Regions from separate parts of the Homo sapiens genome. Here region 1 is linked to region 2. Evidence: promoter capture Hi-C in human tissues and cell types (Jung and others, 2019). All regions are on one chromosome and are shown on one strand. The core of a region is centred on a gene start or on the middle of the fragment in contact, and the rest is flanking DNA. Distances in the headings are between cores, read along the strand shown.

Region 1 (5,103 bases), core at 1,887-4,386, 67 kb before region 2:
GCCCTGCGCAACAGAGCAAGACTCCGTCTCAAAAAAAAAAAAAAAAAAAAAAAAAAACTGTAAAAATAAAAACACAAATTAAAAAAAAGTATTAAAAAATATTTTAATATCAACTAAAATAGTTGATATACTGCATTACAAATAATAAAGTATATCAACTATTTAAATAGCATTTACATTGTGTTATGTATTATAAGTATACTAGAAATGATTTAAAGTATATGGAAGGATGTGTGTAGGTTGTATACCATTTTATATAAGGCACTAGGACATCCACAGATTTTGGTATCCAAGGGGGTCCTGAAACAAATACCTCTAAGATATTGAGGGATGACTGAATGTGTATCCTACTTCCTACTGGTTTTGTTTCTCTGGAGAACCCTGACTAATATACTGATAGTTTTAAAAAAGGAAGCCCAAAATCTTGGCATTGTGAAAGTCAAGGAAGAGAGGCCAGTCATCAACATAGTGTTTGAATTCTGCAAATATGATAACAGTGATTCAGCTGTAGAGAAAGACTCTTCTCAAGTTGTTGAAATCTTTCAGATGGAATTAGTGAATCATAGCAATGAGGATGGAGAGAAGATGGTCTAAGTGGAAAATACTGGGCATCCAGAGAAAGACACTAAAACAAATTCGAATAAGCTGGAGTACAGTGAGGGAGGAGCAGAAAATGGGAGTTTAACATGTTTGATCTTTCCAGGATCCATGAGAAATTATAAATAAATCCTTTATTTAATAGGGCAGCCAGGAAGTGATATATTATTGGGGAGAACTAAAGTTCTTTAAACAAAGTGTTCCAGAGAAATACTGAAACTATGGGGTTGTGTATTAGTCTGTTCTCATGCTGCTCTGAAGAAATACCTGACACTCGGTAACTTAAAAAGAAAGAGGTTTAATTGACTCAGTTCCACAGGGCTGGGGAGTCCTTAGGAAACTTAAAATCATGGAGGAAGGGGAAGCAAGTACATCCTTCTGAGAGACAGGACTAGCTGGATTTCCTAGGCCAACTAATAGCACTTGGGTTTTCCTGTTGAGAGTGGGGACTGAGAGACAGGACTAGCTGAATTTCCTAGGCTGACTAAGAATTCCTAATCCTAGCTGGGGAAGTTGACCACAACCACCTTTAAACACAGGGCTTGTAACTCAGCTCACACCCAACCAATCAGGTAGTAAAGAGGGCTCACTAAAATACCAATTAGGCTAAAAGCAGGAGGTAAAGAAATAGTCAAATCATCTGTCATCTGAGAGCAGAGCGGGAGGGACAATGATTGGGATATAAACCCCAGGCATTTGAGCCGAGAGTGAGCAACCCCTTTTGGGTCCCCTCCCATTGTATGGGAGCTCTGTTTTCACTCTGTTAAATCTTGCAACTGCACACTCTTCTGGTCCATGTTTGTTCCGGCTCAAGCTGAGCTTTCACTCACTGTCCACCGCTGCTGTTTGCCGCCATTGCAGACCTGCCATTGACTCCCACCCCTCAGGATCCGGCAGGGTGTCCACTGTGTTTCTGATTCAGCGAGGTGCCCACTGCTGCTCTCAACTGGGCTAAAGGCTCGCCATTGTTCCTGCACGGCTAAGTACCCGGGTTCATCCTAATCGAGCTGAACACTAGTCACTGGGTTCCACGGTTCTCTTGCATGACCCACGGCTTCTAATAGAGCTTTAACACTCACCGCATGGCCCAAGATTCCATTCCTTGGAATCCGTGAGGCCAAGAACCCCGGGTCAGAGAACAAAAGGTTTGCTGCCATCTTGGGAGCAGCCGCCACCATCTTGGGAGTGGCCTGCCACCATCTTGGGAGCTCTAAGAACACAGACCCACCCCTTAATAGTTCTTCACATGGTGGCAGGAGAGAGAGAGAAGTGTCCAGCAAAGGGGAAGCCCCTTATAAAACCATCAGATCTTGTGAGAACTCACTATCATGAGAACAGCATGGGGAAAACCGCCCCCCCTTGATTCAATTATCTCCACTGGTCCTGCCCTTGACATGTGGGGATTATTACAATCAGGGTGGGATTTGGGTGGGGACACAGAGCCAAACCATATCAGGTTGTCTCTTCAACAAATGCTGCTCAGTAAATGGAATAGCCACAAGAATGAAATTGGTCCCTTACCTTACGCCGTATATAAGATAAACTGAAAATGAATTAAAGGCCTAAATATAAGAACTAAAACTATACAACTATTAGAAGTAAACAGAGTAAAATCTTCCTGACACAGAATTTAGTAATGATTTCTTAAATATGACACCAAAAAGCAACAAAAGAAAAATTGTACTTTAACTGCTACTTCAAAAGACAAACTGTACTTCAGCACAATTTGAAACTTTTATTAAAGAACACTATCAAGAGAGTGAAAAGTCAACCCACAGACTGGGAGAAAATATCGGCAAATCATACTTCAGATGAGGGTCTAGTATCAAGAACACATAACGAACTTTTACAATTTGACAACAAAAAATACAAACAAAACCCAATTGCATGTGTGTGTGTATATATACATGGATTTATATACAAGTATACATATAAATTATCGACGGATTCAATAAATTCATACATATAATTATATATAGGATATGTTTATATAAATTGAATGTTCTCTTGTTGAAACTTCTATATGTATTCTAAATACATATTTAAATTCACATATATATGAATTGAAAACAGATGTTGAGAAACTTGTATACAGATGTTCATAGCAGCTATTCACAATAGTCAAAAGGTGGAAATATCCAAAGTGTTCATAATGGATAAACAAAATTTGGTATATACATACAATGGAATGGGTAAACAAATGGGTAAACAAAATGTGGTATATACATACAATGGAAGAGTCTTCAGTGATATAAAAGGAAAGAAGCACTGCTACATGCTACAACATGGACGAATCTTGAAAGCATTATGGTAAGTAAAAGAAGCCACCTGCATAAGGCCATATCTTGTATTATTCCATTTATATGAAACATCCATAATAGTCAAATTTATAGAGACAGAAAGGGCTGGTGTGTGGAGGAGAAAAAGGGGGTGGATACTTACTGTGTATGAGCTTCCATTAGCAGTGGTGAAAAAGTTCTGGAACTAGATAGTGGTGATGGCTGTATCACATTATGAATATACTTAATGCACTAAATTTTACACTTTAAATGGTTCAAATGGTACATTTTATGTTGAATATGTTTTACCACAATTTTTTAAATCTGGAGTTCCTTCTGGGAACATAGTAGAGGGCCCTAGAGAGGTGTGAAGTTGTATCAGGTGTTGGAGGGATGGGGAACAAGCTGATGGGAGGAGGAGTTGCATAAAGACACTAGAAAGGAAATTTGGGACCAAATTGGAAGAGGCCTGAACATCATACGAGTTTGCGTATTACCCAAAGACTATAAAGAACCATTAAAGAATTTTAAGCAGCAGGGTAAATGGATCTGGCAGTTCTAAAGTTTCTGTAATTCTCTTTTGAATGGAGTCCTGGTAGGGCATCTAAGCAGCTATCAAACACTCCTTTACTGAGAGTTTCATTAGTAAACATAATTAAATTATCCCCCACCCTTTTCAGGAAGCCCAGGCTAAAATGTCCTCTCCTCGTGTATAATTTTTGCTAAATCTTTCTTCCAACTGTAAGCCAAAAGAAGTAGCCAGACTGGTGACCATCTCTGACAAAGTTTTAATACCTCTCAAAGAAAACATTTTGTAAAAAAGTATGAAGACTAATGCCGCCATAAACAATTAGTGGATTAAAGGCCTAGGCCATGTTAAAAGGAAAAAAAAAAATTAGCAAAAATGTTTCCTCTGCTCCTAGGCAGCCCTGAAACCTCCTCCCAGCTGTGGGATGAGCCTTTGTATGTAAGCACAAAAGCCAGGGCTGTTAACATTACAGGGCAGAAAGTCAACTCTGCCATCTGCAAGTCTGGCATGTAAGGCATATAGATCTATCTTTAATGAAAACCACAAGCAGCTGGTACTTTGGGCACTCCAAGAACGCAGGCAGGAATTCTCCGTGATCCAACCCTGGCCCTAAGTGCGCATGAGCACCTGATGCCAAGAGACTTTGGTAAGATCATTGGTAAGTCTCTACTGTTCTCAATAGTCTAAGCGCTACTCTAAGTTAGATGTGTTCATAAATTTCACACGGAGGCCTCATTACCATAGTCCCCCATTTGCAGGCCTTTAGTAGACTTTAAGTAATGTTATAGTTTCAGATTCAAATATCCAACTAAATAATACTTCTTTTGTTTTAAAAATCAACCACGTTAGCCAATGTGTATTGAAGACTCTCCTTGAGTTGCTTAGAGGCATTCTATCCTTCTAGACTCATCTCCCTCTTCTCCCCCAGAGAGCTCCGACTTTTACCCACTTATCTTGTTGTGTACCTACTGATGTGCTGGGTGCTAGAATACAAAGATGATTAAGATATGGTTTCTGCTTTCAAGGAACTATCATAGTCCAACAGAAAAACAGACACTGGGCATTCGCAGGAACAAGGTATCTTTCAAATGTATCTCCCCAGTGCTGTTTTAGTGTCTGCCAAAATTATATGCAAAACATTTTAGAAGCTTTACAAAATTAGAGTCACCTCTCCATTCTAGGCAGGGCCTTACTTTGCATTGTTTAATCACAAGGAGATAGAAATGTAGGAAAATTAGAAGAGACTAGACAAATGGGCTTTAGTGTCTCTTTATGGCTGACAAAATGCTGCGCCAAGCAGTACTTCGATAATACTAGCTTTGCCCCTGCTCTGAGCATGAGGGTGTCATCCCCACCCTAGGCCAGGCACACATTCCACAGCCAAACTTCATGGCACACATTCCACAGCCAAACTTCATGGCCTTGACCAAGTTGATGGCATCAAAAGCTGAGGAAGTGCTATATTCTCTTTTATTGTCTCCTGAGCCTCAAACTGTGCTATCTAATCACAACTTTTACTTATTTTTGAGTCGTGAAGGGGCAAGTCTCTAACATCTTCTAGAAACATTAAAGAGCAGGCAATCTCTGGTCCAGGCGCGGTGGCTCACGCCTGTAATCCCAGCACTTTGGGAGGCTGAGGCGGGCAGATCACAAGCTCAGGAGATCAAAACCATCCTGGCTAACACGGTGAAACCCCAT
Region 2 (4,650 bases), core at 1,647-4,146:
TTTACACTCTCTTCTGTAGAGTGATGAATGAAGGACTGCAGTTGCCATGGAGGCTAAATCTCAGAAGGAATGACTAGGTTCTTTTAGAAGCTGCTCCTGTTTTTCAGCCAAGACCATCTGCTGACATCCCCAAACCCCAGTAGCTGACTGCAATGCCAGTTAATACGTGAAAGACTGTTAACATTTGCTGTTTCCCTTTCTTCTCCCTCTATCAGGACTGAATCTGGGGCAGGTGTGGACAGGCAAGCAGGAAAATCCCGTTGAAAGCTATAAATTATCCTGATTCTGGGCTAAGCGTATGGGTGTCTTAGAGGAACTCTATTTTTTCCTAAGACCTTCCAAGTGGGATGAAGAGATTCTGATAAGAACCAAACAGGCTGCAGTGAATCTGCATTGCTGGGAGGAATGCCAGAAATTTCAGGCTCAGATTGAAATCTTTGTTTGTAATAGTTTTCTTTCCTTGTGATCCAATTTCCTCTTAATTAATCAAGAGGGATTTTTTTTTTTCTCCGCATTTCTGGCCCTCAGTTAATGTTATCAGATGCCGTTGAACTCTGGAAACACCTCTGACAGATCTGTAGATTAAGTATTAAATCACTTCCCAATTTTTTTTATCCTAAGAGGTAAATAACCCACACGATGAAAAACGAATAGCGGCCGGGCGCGGTGGCTCGCGCCTGTAATCCCAGCACTTTGGAAGGCCGAGGAAGGAGGATCACGAGGCCAGGAGATCAAGACCATCCTGGCTAACACGGTGAAACCCTGTCTCTGCTAAAAATACAAAAAAATTAGCCGGGCGTGGTGGCGGGCTCCTGTAGTCCCAGCTACTCCAGAGGCTGAGGCAGGAGAATGGTGTGAACCTGGGAGGCGGAGCTTGCGGTGAGCCGAGATCGCGCCACTGCACTCCAGCCTCGGCGACAGAGCGAGACTCCGTCTCAAACAAAAAAACAAAACAACAACAACAACAAAAAACTAATACCAACTTTTTTCCAAAATAAATGTCTCACTCTCTGAAATAATTAACTTTTATACCTTTTTGTGCTCTTAAACAGCAGTTTTCAATCAGTATGGTTACTTGCATGCAAGACTGAAGGAAAGGATATAGTTTTAAAGCCAACAGACCTGTTGAATGAAAAAAAATTCCGTCTTACTTTAAGAAATTATTCATTGCTGAGCCCTGGACATTTTTATCTGGTTTAATACACTGCATAGATGTTTCTCTTTCTGTCCACATGCTTGTCTTTCCAGTCCTTTTAAAAAAATATTATATTTCAGTCCCTCTTGTGAGAGTTGAAAAACTGTCTTTGCCTACATGAACATAAAGTCCTGCTAAGGAAGATTGTGTTACTAAAAACAAAAGGGGCCAGACGTGGGGGCTCACATCTGTCATCCCAGCACTTTGGGAGGCCAAGGTGGGAAGACTGCACAAGCTCAGGAGTTTGAGACCAGCCTGGGCAACATAGCGAGACTCCGTCTATATAAAACAAAAACAAAAACAATTAGCTAGGCATGGTGGCTCATGCTTGTATTCCCAGCTGCTTGGGAGACTGAGGCAGGAGGACTGATTGAGCACAGGAGGTCAAGGCTGCAGTGAGCCATCATCACACCACTGCACTCCAGCCTGGGGACACAGCAAGACCTTATCTCAAAAAACAAAACAAAACAACAACCACAAACCAAACGGTAAGGGTAGGCGGGATGGGGATAAGAAGTGAGCTACCGATAGCTTTCATTTATTCTGTCCTTAGAATTCTGTCCTTAGATGATCTTTTCAAACAAAGTATTTCAAAATATGTATTCCAACAATAATTTCTTTCTTTCTTTCTTTCTTTTTTTTGAGACGGAGTCTCGCTCGTCACCCAGGCTGGAGTGCAGTGGCTCGATCTCCGCTCACTGCAAGCTCCGCCTCCCGGGTTCACAGGATTCTTCTGCCTCAGCCTCCCGAGTAGCTGGGACTACAGGCGCCCGCCACTACGCCCGGCTAATTTTTTGTATTTTTAGTAGAGACGGGGTTTCACCATGTTAGCCAGGATGGTCTCGATCTCCTGACCTCGTGATCTGCCCGCCTCGGCCTCCCAAAGTGCTGGGATTACAGGCGTGAGCCACCTCGCCCGGCCTCCAATAATAATTTCTAAAATCCAATGTGTATACAGGTTTTAAAAACATTTTTTAATGATTGGACCAAAATTTTGACTCCCTTTTTGTATTTTAATATGAGTTATCTATACAATAGTTCAAAGTTGGGACTAGAAAGTAATTAGTCTTTGACTATCTGGACTTTGGTCTTTCTCGTATCTGGGCTTCAATTTTCTCATTTGGAAAATGAAGATTGGATGAGTTGATTTTCTAAGGTCTATTTCTAATGGAGTTGAATGAAAAAGAAAAAGGCAACTTAGGATCTTTGATAACTGGAATAAAAGGAGGCACACGCTTTGAATTACACAGAGATGGATTTGAATCTCATATTTTATTAGCTGCTGGAAGTTAGATTTTATTTTACTTAGCTATAAAGTGGAACTAATTAGGAGCTGTACTGAGGGCTGCTGGGGTTTAAGTGGGAACAATCCTATAATGTTCCCAGGATAATATGTATGCACCTATAAATGGTAGGACCATATTAAGGTCAGACAAACGTAAGGCTGAGCACATGACTTGATCTAGTAATTTCCACTCTGGCACTTGGAGAAGAGAGTGAGCATATCACTGTTCCTTACCAGCAGAGATGTCCCTCTGCCGTGATGAAACTGGAGCTGTCATGATTTATAAAAAGAACACCATCAGGGCAAAGGCGCCACATCTTGGCAAGAAATGCTTCACATAGTTTCCATCGTCACTAAGCTCTCCTTCCCACCCCGCACCCTGCTTCTATTTAAATCCCAGGCACTCCACTGGACCACACTCATTTTAGCCAGTGTCCAGGCTATCAGCAGAGAAAGACAGGTGGGCAGCATGGCTCCGGGCGAAAAGGAAAGCGGGGAGGGCCCAGCCAAGAGCGCCCTCCGGAAGATACGCACAGCCACCCTGGTCATCAGCTTGGCCCGAGGTTGGCAGCAGTGGGCGAATGAGAACAGCATCAGGCAGGCCCAGGAGCCTACAGGCTGGCTGCCGGGAGGGACCCAGGACTCACCTCAAGCTCCTAAACCAATCACACCCCCTACTTCACACCAGAAAGCTCAGAGTGCCCCAAAGTCGCCACCCCGCCTGCCAGAAGGACATGGAGATGGACAAAGCTCAGAGAAAGCCCCTGAGGTTTCTCACATCAAAAAGAAAGAGGTGTCCAAAACGGTGGTCAGCAAGACTTATGAGAGAGGAGGGGACGTGAGCCACCTCAGCCACAGGTACGAGAGGGATGCTGGTGTGCTTGAACCTGGGCAGCCAGAGAATGACATTGACAGAATCCTCCACAGCCACGGCTCCCCAACGCGGAGGAGAAAATGTGCCAACCTGGTGTCTGAGCTAACCAAGGGCTGGAGAGTGATGGAGCAGGAGGAGCCCACATGGAGGAGTGACAGCGTAGACACAGAGGACAGCGGCTATGGAGGAGAGGCTGAGGAGAGGCCCGAGCAGGATGGAGTGCAGGTGGCTGTGGTCAGGATCAAGCGCCCCTTGCCCTCCCAGTAAGTGAATGCATTCTCCCACTCCTTGTGTCAGGATCACTATTGAGCCCCAACCAAGTCTGGGAATCCAGGCAGCAGATGAAGTCCTGCCAGGGTTAGAGTGAGAATCTCAAAGACTGGACAGGCAGTGAGTACTGTAGAGGAGGGATGTCCCTGGGCTGAAGGTCAGTGCCAACCTTAGACATGGACCTTTTGGTCAGGGCCTGCGCTATTTTGTTTCTCGTTTTTGTTTTGAACTGAACACTCAAGTCTTAGCCTCAACAAAGATGAAGCCATCAGAGAGGGAAGCCTGTTTTTCGTGAATTCTTTAAGTCAGTTCTATAATGAGTAACAAATTGGCTTATTTCTTTAGAGATAAGAGTGGTTTCTGATAGACTCATTGGGGAAACTTTTACCTTGTCCCAAATGTCTATGCTATTATCAGGAGATACGTCTGCTTCAATAACACCCATGGAATACAAATCTCTGACTCTAAACAGGTGGAGGCTGCTGTCTAATTTGAAAGCAGGCTCTGAATGAAGTCAGACAGACCCAAGTTCAAATCCTAGTTCTGCCCCTAACTAGTCATTTTTAAAGGTGATTTCATCAGCTGGGCGCAGTGGCTCAGCCTGTAATCTCAGCACTTTGGGAGGCTGAGGAGGGCGGATCACTTGAGGCCAGGAGTTTGAGACCAGCCTGACCAACATTGGTGAAACCCCATATCTACCAAAAAACACACAAAAATAGCTAGGCACAGTGTTGTGCATCTGTAATCCCAGCTACCCGGGAGGCTGAGGCATGAGAATGGCTTTAACCCATGAGGCTGATGTCGGAGTGAGCCAAGATCATGCCACTGTACTCCAGCCTGGGCAACACAGCAAGACTCTGTTTCACATAAAAATTAAAAAAAGCAGATTTCCTCATTTGTAAAATGACAGCAACAGTAAGCTTTTGGGAGAAGTTCTATTGTATTGGGAAACGTAAATGAGATTAGGGCTACCAAACACAGAGCTTGTCACATATGCTCAATACACGAAAACTATTATTATTCACA

The links. Contacts are between HindIII fragments. The study calls those that stand out against the background at their distance.
Region 1: a fragment that was not itself captured here is called in contact with the fragment with the promoter of ABRA in region 2 in 4 of the 25 tissues and cell types used here (mesenchymal stem cells, mesendoderm cells, neural progenitor cells and 1 more).

Annotation. Positions count from the first base shown.
Region 1 is chr8:106,835,742-106,840,844 of GRCh38, reverse strand. No RefSeq gene overlaps it. Among named protein-coding and RNA genes, the nearest start is that of ABRA, 68 kb to the right of the region's middle. The HindIII fragment of the contact is 7,877 bases long and covers 1-5,103 here.
Region 2 is chr8:106,768,490-106,773,139 of GRCh38, reverse strand. It overlaps ABRA (actin binding Rho activating protein), which reads left to right and starts at 2,896. Exons shown (of 2, transcript NM_139166.5): 1 at 2,896-3,617. The coding sequence starts at 2,950. The HindIII fragment of the contact is 12,258 bases long and covers 1-4,650 here.